Linked DNA regions of Homo sapiens: region 1 is linked to region 2. Evidence: promoter capture Hi-C in 16 types of primary human blood cells and fetal thymus (Javierre and others, 2016). All regions are on one chromosome and are shown on one strand. The core of a region is centred on a gene start or on the middle of the fragment in contact, and the rest is flanking DNA. Distances in the headings are between cores, read along the strand shown. Region 1 has its middle 17 kb from the start of AKAP4. Region 2 holds the start of CLCN5 (chloride voltage-gated channel 5).

Region 1 (3,623 bases), core at 138-2,637, 260 kb before region 2:
ATCATAAAACTTGTCATTAACCATGGCCATCTCACTTCATATAGCCAAGTCTTAATTTCTTTACCTCAAAAATTGGGATTCTAACCAATAGTCTTTTATACCTACCTCATTAGAACGGTTATGTACATCAAAAGAGGCAATTATATTTGAAAATATACCTAAATGAAGCCCACTAAAGCTTCAGTATGGTTGGGCACGGTGGCTCAGGCCTCTAATCACAGCACTTTGGGAGGCCGAGACAGGTGGATCGCTTGAACTCAGGAGTACAACACCAGCCTAGGCAACATGGTAAAACCCCATCTATATAAACGCAAAACTTAGTCGGGCATGGTGGCACTTGCCTGTAGTCCCAGCTACTTAGGAGTCTGAGGTGGGAGGATTACCTGAGCCCGGGAGGTTGAGGCTGCAGTGAGCCAAGATTGCACCACTGCACTCCAGCCTGGGTGACAAGACCTTCCTCAAAAAAAAAAAGAGCTTCAATACAAAATAATAATAATAGCAATAATAATAACGTCTAACATTTGTTGAGCTTTTACTGTGAGTCAGCATTCTTCTAAATGCTTTTCAGTATTATATAATCCTCCCAAAAGCCCTATAAGGTATGTATTACTGTTATCCCTTTTTGCAGATGAGATGACAGAGGCTTGGAAAGGCTGAGTAACTTGCTAAGGTCACAGAGCTAGGAAGTGCTGGAGCTGGGATTGAAAAACACAGATAGGCTCCAAAGCTTCCACTCTATACTACTTCACAGGACACCAGGACCTTGTCCATAACATCATAAGTCAGGATAAATCCTAGCATAGTGCAGGTAACACTGACAGAATGGAGTAGGAACAACTAGGAGGTGACAGGAACCTCTGCAGTAGAGTGGATGGTTAGCTGGAAGAAATCTCCCCTGGTGGACAGGCAGAGGTTTTCAAAGGATATTGCTGGCATAGACCATAGCCCAGAAGAAGGCTGAACTGGGCATCCCCCAAAGCAAGCCGATACAGCTCCTGGGACTCAGAGCAGGCAATATCCCCAAGGAGAAGCATATGTAATGTTGAAAATGTAGCCTCGCAGAACAAGTATGGAATTTGCATTTGCTCAGAGGGCTCAGGGCTGCTCCTTGTTGGGGGTTGAGGGGAACCAGAGCTAAAGAGCAACAAGACAGGCTAGCACCCTTGCACCCTGGCAGGAGACAAGGACAGTCTCTGATGGTATCCGACCAATGCACGCCAGAATGTGTGAAGTAGAAGGAAAGGAGGGGTTACAGGCAGTTGGGGTGTTCAGGGCACTTGCCAATCAGTAGGAAAGGATTTCAACATTTGAATAGCTGTGGGGCTGTGCTAGTGCCTCAAGTCTGAAATGCCTCTCCCAGGGTGGAAGTATTTTACTTTCTCTTATCTTCCTCAAGTCTCGGGCCTGGCTAAGAGTTGAATTCTAGATAACACCTGGGGCGAGCTCAGCTGAAGAAAAGGTACAAACCCACACAGTTCCAGCGCCACTGGATCACACTGTCTTATAATGTCTTGGTTTCATGTCTGCCTTTCCACCAGACTACAAATAGCTTGTAACAAATGAACAGATAAGGGCCTCCCACCTACTGGGCACCCAGACAATCAATGTTTGTTAAGTAACAGCTAACTGTGTGCTGAGCCAGGCCCTCTGCTAGGCTCTTCTCACAGATTGTCACATCTAATCCTCAAGGTGCCTCTCTTGGTAGCCCCAATTCTCAACTGAGGAAATGAAGGTACAGAGGATCAGAAAGTTGCCTACATCTGGGATGACGCCCAGGCAAAATGAGACTTGACTCTGTACTATTCACCACCACACTTGAGTGGCTGGTGGGTGCCCATCCATGTGCAAAACGTCAGAGGTGAATAAAGGCATGGCTTGCTTAGGAATCCAGGAGACATGGCACTGGAGTAGAAAGTGTGTGAAGGGGAACTGAAGGGTGACAAGGCTAGAAAAGTCAGCTGGCATCAGAGTACTATGTGGATTCACTGCTAAGTTCAAGGAGAAACCACTTGAAGGGTTTGAGCTCTGCAGTTTCAGAGTAAGCTTTGTGTTCTGGAGTGCTCACTCAGTCTGCTATGGGAAGGATACATTGGAGCGAGCCATGTGCTGCTTAACTGTTCTTTACTTCCTTTGCTTATTTCTGCTTTTTTTTTGGTTCCTTTCATTTTTCCTTTTTAAAATGGACTTCACTAAATGTTAAAAGATTCCAGAGCTGAACTAACATACCTACTGGGGGGCAGATGGGGAAGGTGAGCAGTGCCCCTTATGACCGACTAGAAACCCCAGCTGTGATGGAGACAATTGATGAAGAGAAGGGTGGTAGGTTTTCATTTTCCTTCCCTAAGGTTACACTTGGCCTCCAGGCCTTTATTTGCCACTGTCACAACCATCAGATGCCAGAAACAGTAGAAGGCAGACTCCAAACTCTCCCCGACCTCCAAATGCCAAATGCATATATTTTTAATGACCTTGACGTGGCTTAACACAGCACCTCCCAATAGAAGATAAATCATGTCCCAGAACTCAGCAAGAGAGGAAAGTAAAATAAAACACCCTGATCTGCTAACTTTCCTCTCAGTGGCTGACAGCATCTCGTTCCCAAAGGCCCTGCTTTTGGAAAAGAAATTTTTCCTGTTGGAGACTTCGGATGCCTTTGTCAATGAGTCCTGTGGCACAAACTATCTGCTAAAGGGAAGGGAGGACTTGCCAGGAAAATCTCCTCTGCAACCAAATGGTCCACTTCTGAAATGACAGAACAACTTAGTTATCCCCATCCTGATGCAAACTCTAAGCAGGCACACCTAGAGTGACTTGTCATATCTCTCCATCCTCCTTTGAGTCGAATCTTGGGGTTTTCTTCCTACTTCCCTGGCCCTTTCTTCCCAGTCTCTTTCAGAGAACCCTCTTTCTCTGCCCATCTGATAACTGTTGACCTACCCAGGATCTATCCTTGTTTTGCTGCTCTTCCCACAAGCCCCACTATCTAGCTGCACCCACTTTACAGAGGGTGGGTGGACAGGCCTAGCTGGGACACTGCCAAAGAGAACTCGTGCCAGAGTTTGGATCCTGGAAGACGGCAAGGACCAGAGGAGGTAGAGGAGGGTGTGAGATGAGGTTCTCTCAGTGGTGTTTCTTCGCTAGGATACCGCAACTTTTAAAATACAGATTCCCAGCCCATCTGTCCCACCCCAACTCCAGATAAATTCTCAATTCCTTTGTTTGGGGTTGCAAAACAAGCATGTATATTTTACATATCTCCAAGTGATGTCATATTACTCCGTTCTATTTTGAAGAAATTAAAACTTATGGAAAAGTTGTAACACCAGTATAATAAGTACCCATATACCCTTCATCTAGCTTCAATTGTTCATATTTTGCCATCTTGCTTTATCTATCTGGCACACAAATGACTAAAATTGTGTGCATATATATAATAATTATTATTATTATATAAAATTATCATTATTTTTCTGAGCCATTTGAAAGTCAGTGTAGACATCATGATATTCAACCCTAAATACTCCAGTGTGTGTCTCCTAGGAACTAGGACATTCGTCCACATACAAGTCATAGCCAGTTGTCCTAAAAAATCCCAATAATAGCCTCAATAGCTGTTCCCCTCT
Region 2 (3,352 bases), core at 794-3,293:
GCAAATTTCCTATAGTGAGCGTATATTGCTTTTATAATCAGGGGGAAAATGAACCAAAGAAGAAGAAAAATGTAAAAATGGAATACCAGTTTAAAGAAAACCAAATTAATTCAGCTAATTCCTGTTGTTAAAACTTCAAATCCAGTCCTAGGACAATATTTGCAAAGATATTAAAGGAGTTAGGGGCCGGGTGCGGTGTAATCCCAGCACTTTGGGAGGCCGAAGCAGGCGGATCACCTGAGGTCAGTTCGAGACCAGCCTGGCCAACATGGTGAAACCCCGTCTCTACTAAAAATACAAAAATTAGCCAGGTATGGCGGTGCACTATAATTACAAGTGACGCCTGTAATCCCAGCTACTCGGAAGGCTGAGGCAGGAGAATCGCTTGAACCCGGGAGGGAGGCGGAGGTTGCAGTGAGCCAAGATTGTGCCACTGCACTCCAGCCTGGGCGACAGAACGAGAGCCGGCTCAAACCAAAAAAAAAAAAAAAAATAGGAGCTAGGAATGGGAGAAAAAATGAGAGGTCTGACGACTTAGTTTGACTTAGAGGCTTAACACTCTGCTTGCCCATTTAAACAAGATCTCAGTTAATAAACTGGTCTTCCCTACTTAGCATACAAGCCAATCTGTTTTTTCTAAAAGTCTTCACCTTTTTGACCTGGTGAACATCAAAGTAGATTGTTATTTCCATATCTTTTATACAACCAACACCTCCACCTCCTAAGTGAAAGTGCTAAAGCACAAACACTGAAGGCTAATACTAGCTTGAGAATCGTGTTGGCCTTCTTTAATGACAAAAGGGTTAATGTGTACACCAGTCCCAAAACACCAACAGAGAAAAGACAGTGCTTTGGACAAGGAAAAGTTCGCGAAGTCCAAGAAAACTAGGAACTCACAAACTCCTAGGGTGAATTCAGCAGGAAAAAGCGCTCCGATGACTTCTCTGAGACCTGGGACAGTCTGTTTTGATTTGCCTTTTTTCTTCTCCTATTTCGCGTGCAGTTAAGAAGTAATGATCATCGTCCCGTGGGACTAGGCGAAATTTAACATCCCTGAAGTTAAACCCGAGCAGTTGCTAATAAATGTATGAAGTTTATGTAAAGTTGATTCGTGCTGGTTTTTTATGCTCCAAACTTCTAGATTTCCCTCACTTACTCGGGGCAGCTTCCACTGACGTTATCGCACGGGCACAGGTACAACTTCACTGGGAACTCCAGGCAACTGATTTGCTCTGAAATGTTAATCAAAGGAAACGTGCGTCAATGTAAAGGCAAAGCTTTTCCCGTGTGGATCAAGGCGCTCAAGAGCAAGGCTCGAAAGTCTGGAGAGAACCAGCTACGCGCGTTAAGTGGCAAAAGGAAAACAGCGCAGCAACTACTTTTCCGAGAGTTTCTCCACTTTGCTAAGACCCATACAAAACCAGCGGCAAGTCCAGAGCCGGAGGGAGAAGAGCCGGGCCTCGGCTGAGCTTTGCCAGCCTAAGTCACCCTACCCCAGTCCGGGAAAGGGGACGCAGGCGGCTAAACACTCCGATTCAAAAGCGGGGCGGGCTTGGCGCCGCTCCGCAAGGAAACTTCGCTCGGGCAACCCAGGGACCATAACTCGGAGAACAGGGCTGGGCTCCCGGGAAGACGCCGCTCAGCACTGGCTGGAACTAGCCTGTCTACCTCCTCTAAGCGCCGGGCTGCCAACGCCGGGCGCGGGGAAGCCCCATCTCCGGGGGTCCAAGCCAGCGGGATTGCGCTTCCCCTGTGTCGCTGCGCTTAGGGGGTGCTCCGGGGGTGGGCCGGGGGCCAGCGGCCCGCCAAGGACCTGTTGGGGAAGGGACAGCCCGTTTGCCTTTACCTGTCGCCGAGGTCCGGAGCGGCGGAGCCCGTGTCCGCCGCCGGTGGGCAGCGCGCTCGGTCGGCTCTGGCGTCCAGGACACCAAGTTGAGTGAGCGCCCCACGTAGCCGGCAGAGCTTCATTCACACAGCCCAGCCGGGGAGGAGGGGGAGCGAAGCGGGCGCGCGGCTCATGTGACAGGGCGCCTCGCGAGTATCGGCTCAGCCCAGCCAGCGTCTGCGCGTGCGCGCCACGCCGAGCTCACACCCGGCACCTCTACCCAGCCGAGATGAGGGGAGGCCCGCCGGGGAGGAGCTGCCAGGAGGAGTTTCAACTTGCGCAGCCGCAGTACGTCGGCCCCGCTCGCTGCCATATTTAATGAGGACTGGGCGGGCGGGTCCTATCCCAGTGCTGGGCGTGTCAGTTGCCTTTGAAAACGCAATGCCCCATTGTGTTTCACTATTTCCAGCTTGCAGTGCCTTTTTTTGCTGGGGAGAAGGTTTGTCCTTAGAATGAAACTGTCTATCCTGAGCTTTCGGCCCACAGAGTAATTAGTAGTAGAAATCTAATACTAATAACATTAGATCACATAATTTGAGCTGCTTCTTATGTGCCAGGCACTCTCCTAACCCCTTTACTTTTTTCGTCTCATTTGGTGTTCACAATAACCCCGAGGGTTATTTCTCCATTTTTACTCATAAAAATACACAGGCACAGAAAGGTTAAGTAACTTGTCTAAACTCATATAATAGTAGGAATAGGAATAGTGATCAAACGTAGTGATACTTTTAACAGCCAACTTGATGTTTCCAGCAACGCTGCAAAAACTATACTGCAGTTGTTAGTACTGTATTATCTCCATATTAATCATTACAAAACAGAGGCTCAGAAAAGCTGAAGTCACAGGACTAGTACGTGGTAGAACTGGGAATCCAACCTAGGTCTAACTTACTCCAAAGCCCTTACCCTAGGTTTGAAAGAAACAGCACACCGTTTTGCAGAAGAGAAAACTTAGGCCAAATGGGGTGCACTGACTCACTTAAGATGATCCAGCTAATTAGTTCTTGGCAGACCTGAGACTGGAATCCATATAATCCAAGTAATCTAACTAGAACCAGGGTACTCTACTGCAGTGAACAATTTGGAATGCCTACTTTGGACAAGCTAAGTGGTCAGGGATTTAAAAACCCCTATCCTAGCCCAATCAGCATAAGGCTACCGGGGACAAATTTGTAATCCGACATAGTCAGGCTTTGACCCATTGCAATATGAGAGACTGCACACGGTAGGCATTTCATCAAACAGAAAAACATGGAGTCATTATAGGATTGGAGAGAAGAGTGGAGTTTAGGTGAATTTTAAACAAAGCAGTGTTTTTGGTAAGCTCAAAGCAAAGCAGTACTGTCATTTGGGGTCACCATCAGGTCTGAACTGCAAAGTGAACCCAGAGTTGTGTTTCCTTGGGAACCACAAAATAAAGATAGATGTGGAATGTTGTGTCCAGATACCCCTTATCTGAAGCTCTGC

What was found. The method cuts DNA at HindIII sites, captures the fragments that hold promoters and counts their contacts. A CHiCAGO score of 5 or more calls a contact.
Region 1: a contact is called between a fragment that was not itself captured here and the fragment with the promoter of CLCN5 in region 2, in 1 of 17 cell types (naive B cells). The highest score is 5.3, in naive B cells.

What each region holds. Positions count from the first base shown.
Region 1 is chrX:50,182,006-50,185,628 of GRCh38, reverse strand. No RefSeq gene overlaps it. Among named protein-coding and RNA genes, the nearest start is that of AKAP4, 17 kb to the left of the region's middle. The HindIII fragment of the contact is 1,316 bases long and covers 730-2,045 here.
Region 2 is chrX:49,921,287-49,924,638 of GRCh38, reverse strand. It overlaps CLCN5 (chloride voltage-gated channel 5), which reads right to left and starts at 2,043. Exons shown (of 15, transcript NM_001127898.4): 1 at 1,847-2,043; 2 at 1,157-1,232. RefSeq lists a silencer at 1,732-1,781. The HindIII fragment of the contact is 4,286 bases long and covers 1,280-3,352 here.